4 separate regions of the Homo sapiens genome follow, and regions 1, 2 and 4 are each linked to region 3. The links are contacts of gene promoters, found by promoter capture Hi-C in blood cells and fetal thymus (Javierre and others, 2016). All regions are on one chromosome and are shown on one strand. Each heading gives the region's core, a stretch centred on a gene start or on the middle of the fragment in contact. The rest is flanking DNA. Distances are from core to core; before and after follow the strand shown.

The links. The method cuts DNA at HindIII sites, captures the fragments that hold promoters and counts their contacts. A CHiCAGO score of 5 or more calls a contact.
Region 1: a contact is called between a fragment that was not itself captured here and the fragment with the promoter of ANKRD16 in region 3, in 3 of 17 cell types (total B cells, megakaryocytes and naive B cells). The highest score is 7.1, in total B cells.
Region 2: a contact is called between a fragment that was not itself captured here and the fragment with the promoter of ANKRD16 in region 3, in 1 of 17 cell types (naive B cells). The highest score is 5.0, in naive B cells.
Region 4: a fragment that was not itself captured here is called in contact with the fragment with the promoter of ANKRD16 in region 3 in 1 of 17 cell types (total B cells); the score reaches 5.2 in total B cells.

Annotation. Positions count from the first base shown.
Region 1 is chr10:6,085,886-6,089,189 of GRCh38, reverse strand. It overlaps RBM17 (RNA binding motif protein 17), which reads right to left and starts at 156. Exons shown (of 12, transcript NM_032905.5): 1 at 1-156. RefSeq lists a silencer at 1-294 and an enhancer at 455-504. The HindIII fragment of the contact is 1,365 bases long and covers 1,139-2,503 here.
Region 2 is chr10:6,047,224-6,050,786 of GRCh38, reverse strand. All of the region lies in intron 1 of IL2RA (interleukin 2 receptor subunit alpha), which reads left to right. Among named protein-coding and RNA genes, the nearest start is that of IL2RA, 13 kb to the left of the region's middle. RefSeq lists an enhancer at 1-162. The HindIII fragment of the contact is 9,510 bases long and covers 1-3,563 here.
Region 3 is chr10:5,888,287-5,891,961 of GRCh38, reverse strand. ANKRD16 (ankyrin repeat domain 16) reads left to right here and starts at 2,069. Exons shown (of 8, transcript NM_019046.3): 1 at 2,069-2,921. The coding sequence starts at 2,608. It overlaps FBH1 (F-box DNA helicase 1), which reads right to left and starts at 1,719. Exons shown (of 21, transcript NM_178150.3): 1 at 1,616-1,719. The coding sequence starts at 1,616. RefSeq lists silencers at 1,287-1,336, 1,527-2,246, 2,387-2,496, 2,507-2,786. The HindIII fragment of the contact is 13,083 bases long and covers 1-3,675 here.
Region 4 is chr10:5,710,144-5,713,475 of GRCh38, reverse strand. TASOR2 (transcription activation suppressor family member 2) reads right to left here. Exons shown (of 22, transcript NM_001321783.2): 2 at 558-653. Among named protein-coding and RNA genes, the nearest start is that of TASOR2, 27 kb to the right of the region's middle. The HindIII fragment of the contact is 2,182 bases long and covers 333-2,514 here.

The DNA of each region.
Region 1 (3,304 bases), core at 572-3,071, 200 kb before region 3:
CCCGCCCGGCCGACTCTGCCCATGAGCCGCGCCGGCGGCAGAGCGGAGCCGGGCGGCACTCCGCGGAAACCCGCCAGCGGCAGGAGGCCTCGGCGGCGCCCACCCTTCGCTGAGTCCTCAGGGCGCTCGGCGGCGCGGGGTCAGGGAGCGCGGGCTGCCGGGAGAGCGCGCCCGCGCCTGCGCCCCGCCTGCGCCTGCGCCTGCTTCGGCCTCTGCGCCTGCGCCGAGGGCGCCTTGCCGCACTGCCCCCTGCCCGCGGGAGGACCGCACTGCACGCTCCCCTCCGCCGGCGTCTTCTTACCATCAAGAGGTGTCGCCCTGGCGCACATTTTCGAAATTCCACAAGGCTTGGGGAGCGCGGCAGCGCCCCCAGATGGTGAGGAGGAGAAGTGGTCCGAGGCCGGGCTTTCTGATAGGGGAGGTGGGGGAAGTCCCTCCAGGCCCCTCGATCTCATTCATTCAAAGCCACTCCTATATAAGCAAAAAGTTGAAAATAAGTCTGCATAGGCCAGATGCTGCAAAAGGATGGCAAGGAGCACGAGGTTAAGCGTAAGATTATGGAAACAGATGCCGCGATTAGGGGTACAGAAAAGAATGTCAATGCTATAAAGCCTCGGTCTTTAAAAACGACGTCGCTGACAGAAGCAGGGAGGGAAAGGGAAAGTGGGACTTCGGGTAAATATGATTTTTACATCTGTAATTAATTGGGTGTCAAATAGAGTTCAAGCCGATAAATCAAATAGTAGAGATTTAAGCAGACGTCTTAGTCCGAAGGAGTATACCAAGAAAGTTACTATAATCCATTAAAATCCAGTCATTAAGAAAACGGGAAAAGGGGGAAAAAAGAAATACAGTGGAGAGACAAAAGACAATCTAAAGAAATAGAGGATTAAGGACGTCATGGGATGGTATGATTCTGAGGGTAACCCAGAACAAAACTACAAAGCTTTCAAATAATCCACACATACATGCACCCACACATACATGCATGCACACACACACACACACACACAAAACCACAGCAAAAAAAATATATATATAGGGAAATATTTTAAAAAGTTACAAAACAGAAAGCGTAACCAAACTATATGACAGAACAAGACCAAATGTCTCACAAGAAGAAATATAGACCTAAGCTTACCTACTAAAAAACTACAATCTCAGATAGGAGCACAAACCATCATGCAACTCAGTGTTGTATACAAGAAAGTGCTAACGTTATTCTGAGTTTGAAAATACAAGATTGGAAAAGATATACCAGGAATATGCAAAAAAATTAAAAAAATCAGGAATCACAAACCGCTTACTACAAAGTTGATTTCAGGGCAAAAAGCATTAAGTAAGATTAAGAAGGACATTTTATAATCTTGAGGAGCACAATTCACAATCAAGAAAAAAATAGGAAAAATAGGAAAATCTTTGCACCAAATCACATAATCTCATTATTCATAGCAAACACTGTAGGAGTGAGTGAATAGACAGAAATAATTGGCACACTCCTTGCCAGACGAAGAGTACAAAAAGTAAATGGGGATTGAGAAGACCTAAAAATACAATTCCTATGATAGATCTAATATATCAAACACTGTCCCCTAAATAGACATTACATCTTTTCCAGTGTCTAAGGAATATTCACAACAATTAGTCATATTTTAAACCACAGAGAAAAATCTTAACATAGTCCAATAAGTAGAATCATATCGGTAATATTATCTGCAGCAATTCAATAAAAGTAGAAATTAATGAAAAAACAGAAAATAAAACATGCCTACCCCTTGAAAATTTTTAAATGCTTAAATAACACTTGGACTAAAAAGGAAAACAAAATCAAAATAACATAATATCTAGAAAAGTATGAAAATGACATACTCATGGGATTTAGCTCAGAGAGTACTAAGAGGAAAATTCATGGTTTTAAGTTTTTGTATCAATTAAAAACTTGGAAAAAGCTAAATGAATTAAGCACTTGTGCAAGAAACTGGAAATAAAATAAAAATGTGAGAAGCAGAAGGACGTACTTGGTCAATAAAAGAAGCAGAAAGTAATAGCGTGTAAACAGAAAAAGGAAGAAGGGCAAAGATAGAAGGTGTCTAGACTGGGTCTCTCCCCACCCCGTGATCAAAGCACCGGTGGGGGTGCAAAAGCCCTGATTAGGAGGTCCAGAGCTGCAGGACTTCCTCCAGGTTGAACCTGCTGTCTACCTGTACTCCCTAATCTGCTTGGCGTCTCCACTCTGCAGTCTGAGACCACTCCTTCCTCCCTTTTTGGTTGAAAATTTGTGCCTTTGTTCCCAAATCATTCCATCATACATACACAAGTAACTTTTTGGTTTACAGACCATAGATGCAATCACATCCATTGTTTAGGAATTTTCTAGTTTAACTTCCAGGAGGAAAACTGCCTTACTTCATTTCCTAGTACGTGAGCAGTCTCATGCTTGCCTCCATTTCCTGTCAATAGTAACAAATATCATCTTTATTTTATGCACCGAGAATCCAAAGCTTAACCCAATGGGGGAACAGAACCCAGGCCATGCAACTATCAGAAAGCGCACACAAAACGGTGGAGCTTTAGAAGAGGGACAAGACAGACGCGCTGGAGCGCCCCCTCGGGGCTGCAGAGCAAACATCGGTAGTGACTCCTGCGTAAACAAGTCGTGTGATCTGCTCCAGCTGTGCTCAGCGCCTGGCAGGAGGCTGGCAGGCAGCAGATGGTAGAATTCATCGGAAACTGGGAATTAGCAGGGCAGATGTTCCAGGAAGAAAGAAGATAAGGGCGGTGTTTGGGCTGGCAGGAAAGGCTGGGTGAAATGCTACAGTATGCAGCATGGATGGAACCGGGGGACCCCGAAACAGGAAAAGAAAGGGGTGTGGGCCCTGGAGGGAAGACAAGCTAGTTAAGACAATTTGATCAGATTATAATTTGATCAAAAACAAGTATTCCCAAGGATTCTGTGTGTAGGGATGCTTTCGGTGCACCGTGGAGAATGATTTTTGTCTCCTTTTTTGTATCTTTTTTTTTTTTTTTTTTTTTGAGACGGAGTCTTGCTCTTGTCACCCAGGCTGGAGTGCAATGGAGTAATCTCAGCTCACTGCAACCTCCGCCTCCCGGGTTCAAGCGATTCTCCTGCCTCAGCTTCCTAAGTAGCTGGGATTACAGGTGCCCGCCACCATGCCCGGCTACTTTTTGTATTTTTAGTAGAGACGGGGTTTCACCATGTTGGCCAGGCTGGTCTCGAACTCCTGACCTCCGGTGATCCGCCCACCTCGGCCTCCCAAAGTGCTGGGATTACAGGCATGTATAT
Region 2 (3,563 bases), core at 842-3,341, 160 kb before region 3:
CACTGGGATCCCAGCTCTGAGCACTCCCGGGCCAGGGAGGCCTTGCTGCGTGCTCTGCTTCTGTGATCTTACAGATTCCTCATGGCCACCATAGGAGATGGGGACTGTTAGCACTATTCCCCCACCCCAACCACCTTTTTTTTGAGACAGAGTCTCACTCTGTTGCCCAGACTGGAGTGCAGTGGTATGATCTCGGCTCACTGCAACCTCTGCCTCCCGGGTTCAAGAGATTCTCATGCCTCAGCCTCCCCAGTAGCTGGGATTACAGGCATGCCCCATCGCCATGCCTGACTAATTTTTGTATTTTTAGTAGAGACAGGTTAGTAGAGACCATGTTGGCCAGGCTGGTCTCAAACTCCTGACCTCAATTGATCCACCAGTCTCAGCCTCCCAAAGTGCTGGGATTACAGGCTTGAGCCACCACGCCCTGCCACCATTCCCATTTTACGGATGAGGAAACTGAGACCATGAGGCAGTAATTCACTCTCCCAAGAAAGCAAGGAGCCAGTAGATCTGAGCAGAACCCATGCATTCAGGCCGACACAGGAAGCAAGCTGTCAACAGGCACTGTTCATCTCCTGGGCTGCCTAGGCAGGCCCTGAAGCTCTGGTTTTCAGTCACCCTGTTATTCATCCCCAAGTTAATCTCCCCTGAAAGCACCTGTCGTGATGCCCTTTCGGCTGCAAGAGCTCCAGTCATTTCCATTGCCTCAGGGGCACTTTGCTACCTCCTCTGCCTGGCACACAACATGCTCCCCAGCCAAGACTGTTCCCTCAGCACATAGCACGCCTTGGCCAGCAGGTCTCCTCCTGTCCTTCAAAGGGAACCTCCTCATTTGTGATTTCAAAGCTGGACTCCCAGGAACACCCTCCTCCCTTACTGGAACAATCTTCCCCATCTTGTCTGCCTACCGGAATTTTTCCCAACCAGAAAAGCGTCTTGAGAGAATGGAAAAGTCTTATGAATTTGGAAAGTTGACAGCTTGAATTCAAATCCTAGCTTGAACTTGTGAATTTCTACTTTCCTTTACGAAAACCTTTGCATGCCATTCTGTGCAGGCACTAGCAAGGTGGTGGGAGGGAGATGGATACAGTAGGGTGAGTGCCGTGTAAAGAAAAGGGAGCAAAGTCTGGGACTGCAGAGAAATGCCACAAAGCACAGACAGAAGAGTCCCGGAGGCTTCCCAGAGAAAGATGACAGCCAATGGGAGACCTCCAGGGAAAGCAGGAGTTAAGAAGGTAGAAATGCATTAGGGAAGTGTGGCATGAGCATGATGGTCAATTTCAATGTGTCCACTTGCCTGGGCTAAGGGATGCCCAGATAGCTGGCTAAACAGTCTCTCTGGGGGTGTCTGTGAGGGTATTTCCAGGAGACACTAGCATTTGAATTGAATAGACTGGGTAAATTTCTTGTTGGTAGACTGAGTAAAGAAAATCACCCTCACCAGTGTGGTGGGGATCATCCAACCATAGAGGACCAGAATAGAACAAGAAGGCAGAGGAAGGTTGCATTCTCTCTGTTCAAGCTGGGACATCCGTCGTCTGCTCTTGGACATTTGCACTCCTGGTTCTCCAGCTTTTGGACTCTGGGACTTACAGCAGGGCCCCTCTGCTCCTCAGGCCTTCAGTCTTAGACTGAGCCACACCACCAGCTTTCCTAGTTATCCAGCTCCAGCTGGCATATTGTGGGACTTCTCAGCCTCCATAATTGAGTGAGCCAACTCCCATTATAAATATTCTCTTATTTATCTACATACATCCTATTGGTTTTGTTTCTCTAGAGAAATTCTGTTTCCCTGAATAATACAATGACCAAGGCCCAAGACAAAACACATGGTGAGCTCCAAGAGCCACGCAGAGTCCCGCAAGGCAGGAGAGCTCAGGCACATAGTGGAAGCAGAGATTTTGAAGTTGGGCATGAGCTGTGTCTTGGAGTCTCCCCATGTCACTGGGCTTAAACTGTGTCCTGGAAGGAACAGAACATCCCAGAGGGGTCTCAGTCAGGGCATGGCTTGTACTTTGGAGAGACAGCATTGGGTTTATGTGAAGAATGAAGGAAGAAGAGAAAGCACTGGGTTTATGTGAAGAATGAAGGGAAGCAGAAAGGCAAACCCATAGGGCATTGAGTAACCTCCATGGAAGTCCATGAGGGTAGGGTTTTAACCTCGGTGGGCCTCAGCTTCTGTTCGTATAAAATGGGAATAACACAGACCCTGCTGGGTGCTGTAAGGCTACATAAGCTAGCCTGCCTAGAGTGACCAGAGCACACAGTAGGTGCTCACTAAATGTGACTTGCTGGGCTTCTAGTCTGCATGGCCAAAGGCCCTTCCCTCGGACCTTTCCGTGTGGATGCCTCACAGGCTGCTCAGTCTACACATCCAGAACTGTCCTCCCTCCCTGGAACCTACTCTTTCTCCTCTCTTTGCTATCTCAATGAATGGCACCCCATCCTCCCCATCGCCCAGGAAATCTGGGCAAAATCCTCATTTCTTCCTTGCTGTCCTCCATGCACCTAATAATCCAGCCTCAATTTTTGGCAATTCCAACTTCTAAAATCTCTTAACGCCAGCAACCCCTCTTCTTGCTTACTTATCACCACCCACCTCAGGACTCCCATGACAGCCTTCCTGTGATGCATGACGGGCACATGACAAGGGCAGTTGAGGGTCAGGGGCCACGGGAGCAGGATGCAGCCAGCACATGAGGGAGGATAGGCGGGAGGACAGGCAGACACTTGTGCGTAAGAGCACGCACTTGTCAGGCTGCCTGGGTCCAAGTCCTAGCTCCACCACTGAGGGGCTGTGTGTCTCTGGGCAAGTCACTGGGCCTCTCTGTGCCTTAGTTCCTGCCTCTAGAGAACGGAGATGAGAAGAACACATCACCTCATAATTAATTACTGCATAAGTAATAATTTTAATTATATTGACTATTATACTCTATTAGTGTATGATGTCTTTTATTATATATATTTATCATATAATATACTAATTATATTAATGAGTATACTATAGTATTTTATATAACATACCCTAATTGCTTATTATATATCTGTATAATTATTTTATCATATAAGATAATTTCATAAGCTAAGATGGTATTTTATATATTTCATTTATTATATATTTATATTTATATACTTTATTGTATTTGAATTGTGATGTCTAATAAAATAATAGATACGTTAATTATCCTTCATATTCATAATAAGCTCCTTCATTGGTGTCTGGGAAGCCGAGAACATTTGTGCGTGTGAGCTCTCCTGTGTGTTCGGCATGCAGTGTGTTGCGTCTCAGCTGACGTGATTGCTGTTTTTGGTGGCCCGGAGGCACAGGGTGCATGCTACAGGCAGGAAGAGCTTTGGAGCAGGCTGACTCCTGAGCTCTCCTCTGGTGCCGTGGCTTCTGAGGCCCCCAGGTGACAACCAGCCTTTGCCATTCTAGTGTTTCCTCTATGTTCATCCCGCGTTCTGAGTGTGGCACAGGCCACACTCCTGACCCCACCAGCATCAGGTGCTGTGCACATGGTATGAGGTCGGGATGGAGTGCTGTTGGCATGGGGGTTGTT
Region 3 (3,675 bases), core at 820-3,319:
TGCAACACCAATGAAGTAACCAATTATCCTGGGTTCAAATATTCCAACCTGGCTAGGCACGGTGGCTCACGCCTGTAATCCCAGCATTTGGGAGGCCGAGCTGGGTGAATTACTTGAGGCCAGGAGTTTAAAGACCAGCCTGGCCAACATGGTGAAACCCCGTCTCTACTAAAAATACAAAAAAATTAGCCGAGCATGGTGGCACACGCCTGTAATCCCAGCTACTCGGGAGGCTGAGGCAGGAGAATTGCTTGAACCCGGGAGGGGGAGGTTGCAGTGAGCCGAGATCGTGCCACTGCACTCCACCCGGAGCAACAGAGCGAGACTCTGTCTCAAAATATATATATATATTCCAACCTACTGTGAACCCGTGTGTCCCAATTATGTTTAAAAAACAGGGAAACTAGAGACATAATGCAAGAGAAGATAGTCATCTGAAACTGGGAGAGGGGCAGGGGTAAAAGCAAAAAGCATGAAGCTACCAGATGCCTCAACTTCCAATTTGCACTAACTTCAACGGCAGCAGAACACTGCTTGGCACGCCCTACACTTTTGTGCATTTCAAACAACTTTTATGCCTTCCTTTTTTTCTTTTGCTGGAGTGACAAGGCACGACAGAACAATAACCTGAGCAAAGCTGGTACTTGGACTAGTTCTGTCTCCAGAGGCTATCCACATCACTGTTACCTTAACCAAACTCAATCTGCTCATGAGTAAAACGGACTTATCTTCATGGGCCCATTCCAGAAGTCTTTTCATTTATCTCCGCTCATTTTACCACAGCGGCAGACGCTGGCGGACACTCAACACATGCTACCATCCTGCCTTCCAGAAGACTTTATTACCTGTAATTCTGTAAGAAAGTCACTGACTTGGTTAGGCCTCCACTTCCCCACCTGTAAAACCCTACTGATGCCTCATAGGGTTGTCTTCGGACCACAGACTGCAATAAAAAATGTAAACGGCACTCGTTTTTAGGCCTGGCAAATAGGAGCTACTCCCATTCTACTCCCTAAAGGAATCGAAAACATGGAGAGGTTAAGTGACTGGCACCTAATCAGATCGGGTAAGGAACCCAACACCTACTGATCTCTTCCATCACCCACAGCCTGCCCAGCTCTCGCCGTGCCCTCCACCAGCGCCAGGCCTCCCACATCGCCTTAGGCTTCCCATGCTCAGAGGAGGGGCAGAGAAGCTACCGATGACACAGGGGCAGAGGGCAGCGAAAAATGACTTGCCCAAGGTCAAAACGTCAGAGTAGACGGGAAAGCCTGGCCTCCTAGCAGCCGAGGCCACGTCCCCGCGCTTGCCCCTTCAGCCCCGAGGACCCACACGCTGCGCCTTCCTGGCCTCGGGGGGCAGCGCGGGGGCCGCTCCCGACCGAGTTCAGTGAGCGCCCTGGCCTCCCCCGCGCACCCCCGCCGCGCCCTCCACCTGCCCACGGCCCGGACGGCCGAGCCCCCACGCCCGCGCTTGCCCGAGCCCAGCCTCGCGCCCCCGGGGCCCCCGCTGCCCCACCCCGGGCCCGGACCCCCCGCGCAGGACCCCGGAGGTTAAGTTTTCCACACGGCGGAGCCCCTCCCACACTCCCTGCCACGTCTGCGGCCTCACGCACTGTGGCGCTCCGGACCCGGACCCCGCTGCCGCCGCCGCCGGGCCCGCGCCGCCGGCCGCTCAGCCCAGCGTCCCCCGGCAGCGAGCTCCTCCTCTGGCCGGGACCTGGAGCCCGAGACGCCCGCCGACTTCCTCCGCGAGCTCCGCCCCGCCGCAGCCCCGGGAAGCGCCCGCCGCCGGAGCCGGACTGACGGCCCCCGCGACCAATCGGGACGCGAGACCGGAGGGGGCGTGCTGACGGACGGCCACTAACGCCAATCGAAATGCGCAATCGGTGGGGGCGCGGCCACAGCTACCGGGCCACGCCCCATCCGCGCTTCCGCTCGGGCCGGGGCGGAGCGGGAAACTTTCCCAGAGTTCCTTCGAGCTCCCCGAGTCCCCGCGGAGCAGCGGCGGTCGAGGGGCGGGGACGGGGGCGGAGCCCAGGAACGCCGGCCCCCAGGGGCTGGAGGCTGGGGCGGCCCTGAGGACGCGTGCGGGGCAGGTCACGCTTGGGCCTGGCTGCCTCAGGAGCCACCCTGCACGGCGCCGGGCGAGGCTGTGCGCGCCCTCCCGGACCCTCCACTTTGGGGCTTTGCGGTGTAGCGGCGCGCCCCACTCCCTTACGTGTTCAGTCCCGAATCACGTACGGGCCGCTGCAGCTCCAGGACGGCGGACGCCAGCGCTCTCGGATCCCCAGGCCCCTCCGTGCTCATCCCGGACCGCTCCGTCCCTGAGGAAAAACCGCCCCGTGCCCGGAACCGCGGCTTCTCCCACGCGGGGCAGGCCGGGGCTGTGAGGGGGCAGCCCGCCTGCGGACTAGGCCGGGGGTTTGAGGAGGCGGCTCTGCCGGGGACAAAGCCGGGGGCGTGAGGGGCGGTTCTGCCGGGTTCGGGGCGCGCGGGGCAGGTTGCGTGAAGAGGCGGAAAGTCCCACTCGCCCTCGGCTTCTCCCTGCCCGGCCGCCGGTGTCCCGCCCGCCGCCTCCCCGCGCAGCCCGGCCCGACCCGCGGCGATGGCCCAGCCCGGGGACCCGCGGCGCCTCTGCAGGCTGGTGCAGGAGGGCCGGCTGCGCGCCCTGAAGGAGGAGCTGCAGGCGGCCGGGGGCTGCCCGGGGCCGGCCGGGGATACCCTCCTGCACTGCGCCGCGCGCCACGGGCATCGGGACGTGCTGGCCTATCTGGCCGAGGCCTGGGGCATGGACATCGAGGCCACCAACCGAGACTACAAGCGGCCTCTGCACGAGGCGGCCTCCATGGGCCACCGAGACTGCGTGCGCTACCTGCTGGGCCGGGGGGCAGCGGTCGACTGCCTGAAGAAGGCCGACTGGTAGGTGTGGAGCGGAAAGACACCCCGCCTCCCCTCTACTCGCAGAGTCGTAGCGAGTTCCCTGTGCTTCTCCGTCCCCTTGGACACCGTAGCTGTTCTCAGCTCCTAGTTCTCACCCCAGGCCTGCTCAGCGGCAGGGACCTCCTGCCCAACTTTCCCTTATAACGCAGATGACCTGCAGAGTCCCTCGTTCCTGCCCTTGTGGGTTAACTGGTCGGGGCAGTCACCTCCCTTTCTAGAGCACGGAATAGTGTAGAATATAACCAAAGAGAATGTTACCAAACAATGAAGTGTGTGCACTATACAGATAGCCTCCGGATGCGATGTTCTGGGGACATTTAGCTAAGTTACTTCTGCACCAATGCATTGTTTCAAGTGGCATTGCTCCAATCAATATCCAGAATTCCTGAGTTATACACGCGCTCGTGTGTGTAGAGCACAGTGCAGTTGTATCACATACGTGCAGCCTTGCATAACCACCACAGTCAGAGATACTCTGCTCCACCATCACACAAGCCAATTGCATTTCGTTTGTTAGATTGACACTGATTTTAGTACTCACTAGGTCAGGTTCGTTAGAGGGCGTGAACATCTTTAGGAACATAGGGAAGTACATCTTCCCCACTGGGGCAGGGGAATAGACTTCGTTATGTGTTGAGGGTTGTCTGTGGGTTTTCTTAGCTCTGCTCCAATTCACTGCTATCCTGTGAACTAGCTTATAAGCTGCTTTGTCTCCCAGGCACCCTCTCCTCTA
Region 4 (3,332 bases), core at 174-2,673, 180 kb after region 3:
TATTGTTTAAAATGTATCTCGGAAGCCATACATATCTTTGGAGACCTACCCTGTACACGGTCCTTTCCTTCTCCCATAATTTAGGTACAGGCAACAATACAGATTTCAGTCTTCAAATATTGAATGAAGCAATTTCAGTTAACCAGGATGCCAAAGTTTATTAAGTTACATGATTTATCTCCCAAATCAAATAACTTAAACCAGAAAAATTTCCACAGGAAACAAAGTTTCGATTAAACGATAATCCAGAATGGAAAAATATCCATTCACTCTAGTAAAGGCCATTATTGACACTAAAGAAAACTGTTTTAATCCAAATTGCACCCTAAGCTTACAAATGTATTTCAGATAAAACTAAAGAGAAACCGTGAAAAGTTGTAGAAATCAAATCAAATCTCCTTCATGACTGGCTTTTTTGTTGCTGTCATTTACATGCCACCAAACTAAGCAACAAAAAACACTGATGAATTGGTAATCTTACAACTCTTACAGAACTGAAGTACCACAATACTTAAGACTAATGATACCATTAATTTTCTACAACCTAATTCCCTTACCTGCTTTTCAGTATCAAACAGAAGAAACCCGTAAGTGTCTTGAAGTTCTTCCTGAGTATAACTACTTGCTTTTTTTTGTTGGTAAAAAGTTTTGTACTGTATAAAGAGAGAACAGAATAACCAAACGCTATAAACATACTATTTTGTCTTGCAAATTTTTAAAAATGCATCATTTGAATTCTTCCTGCCATTAAGACTAAACATAAATGCATTATTTTTCTATTCCCTAGAATAATTACCTTCCAAGTGACTATTTCCAAGGATCTGCTGCGTCTGAAAAATTATAGCTAAAAAGTGCTAGGCTTATATACCAAAAATGATGGGTTTACCTCTTTTAAAACTAAAACAAAACCATCATAGTGTGTACCAAGCACCTCACCTCATTTAAGAAAATGTCATTTTTCACCAAAGTCACTTGACTGTACTGAAAACCATGCTCAGATGAAGAGTCCAAGTAAGAAGTATGGAGGAGTGAAACTGCCCTCTGGAAGAGAGAGTCTGAACTCAAGGACACTGTCTCAAAAACTGTAAAACACAAACAAAAATAACGCAGCTATTTAAGATTCCAAAGGATGGGGTTAAGGGAGACACACTGAATATCACTCAAAACATCACCTATTCCTTTCCTATATAACTAAGAAATATTTGTACTGTCTTAACAAAATTTAAAAGACCTCTGATGTAAAGAAAATAACCTAAATAAATTAGAACTGAAGCTGAATTACTTTTAGTACAGGAGCTAAAATATGTCCTGCCAGACCTGGTATGTCTTTTGGTTGAAAGCTGTGTACTATAACTGTAGTTGGTCAAAAGTGGATACAACTGTAGTGTCAAGGTGGTGGTCAGGAGCTGCTTAGACTTTTAGAGCAATTTCTCATTCTTTAGTTTTTTTCATCCTTTGTTTCTATTCTTTTTTTTTTAAATATATACGCCACACTTGATAAACTTACTCTTTACATATTTTCATTAAATCCCTAAGTCAGCTAGGTCCCTTTTAAGGGACCTACTATTGCCCACTCACCAGACACAATAGAAATCATTGTATCTCTGGGATTTCCTCACCCGTCAAGAAGAGTCTATTGAGTTTTACTTCCTGTGAGTTGTATTATAAAATCACTTTCTTTCATTTTATACAACAGAGCTGTACTTACAATTTTTTGAAGGTGCTTTTTTCAAACCATACCCATGTGAGATAGCTTTGAGGGACTGTGATACACCCTTCCCATGAGAGGCACGTTTCCTAATTGAGAATTACCGACTGGATCCAGTAATTATGTTGACTGACTCTTTGTGCCTTTTGATTTTACAAGTCTCTACTTTAGCAAGAACTGAGCCTAATGACCTACGGACACTCTTGCATCTAACCATTTTAACTGTTCACTCTCCTATTTGTACTCTTTCTATTCTCTTTATTAAGGTTGGGGGGTTTTACAAACCTAGTATTTATAAACAATAAGGAGAAGAGAATGATTTATATAGCACTGGAAGTACTGGTCATATAGTATAAATGTTATGAAGTACAGTAATATGGCTTCCTACTTTTACCAAAACTGCCAAATGTATTAAAGTTCAAAAATTAAAGAGAAAAAAGAATCTCAATTAAAACTAACTTGTAAGTAACCAATATACAAAAACTAGACTATCTCAGAAATGAAAGCAAACATTTTAGTAAGCTAAATTTAGACTAAATTGTCCTAATACTTTAATTATCAAGGCATTTAAAAAATCTTTTAATAAACTTCCAAGTATCAAAATGAAAGACTGTAAATAGAAAAGAATGAAATGTTTACGAATATTCTGAAGTTGATATACATGATTTATATATTCATTCTAAGTTTTACTTTTACTTTTGCTCAGTTTCACTTTCTCCTTCAATATACCAGTGCTTTAAAAAATAGGGATATTCTGAATAGATGCAAATAGCAAAACACCAGTTATAAGAGTTAAAATTAAAGCTTTATTAGCTGCATTACTCAAAACAAACTGGCAAACCTGAGCATTTTCAAATTCATTTTACAAATAATCTGTACTGCTAGCCTAAACACAAATCAAGATTTCTTTAGAAACAATAATTTTGGGAACTTTATATTTGATATTTATAAAAAAGCAAGAAAGTTTCAAAATTGAATTACCTATAGACCAATATTTGAGAAACACATTGTTTACACTGAAAGAAATATTTTAAAAAGTAACTCTGGAAATGAAGACTGTGATTATCAACTTCTCTAAATTCTGTAAGTCATTAATAGGTAGGCACAGATTTAAGTTACATACGTCCTCATTTTTGAGCATCATAATGCACAATAATGAACTGAAAACTGAAGAGATGGTGCAATTAAAAACACTAATACAGGGTTTCCCAAATACATGGTCAGAGAACACTTCATTAACACCAGTGTGGGGAATACTGTTCCCTATATAGCTATAAATAAAGCCAATGATTTAAAACGAAGGAGGAGGAACAAGTACCAAATTATTTTTTGCTTATATATATTTTTATTTCCAGAACTATTTATTTATGGTTAAAAATGCTTCCACTTTAGGCCAGTATTCTTCAATATATAGCAGTATATGCATAAAAGCAGTGATTTTATGGTTAGCAGAGGTATGTTAAAAACAAAGTTGTTGGAAAATCATAGCTAATCTTAAATCTTTCATGGGTTCATAATGACATCAATTACACTCTCAAGAAAGCACAAGTTTCCTGTTCAGTAAATGAGGAGACAGATGAAAATTTCATCTAGAAATTTGACGCTCTCCCTTCTTTACAAAATA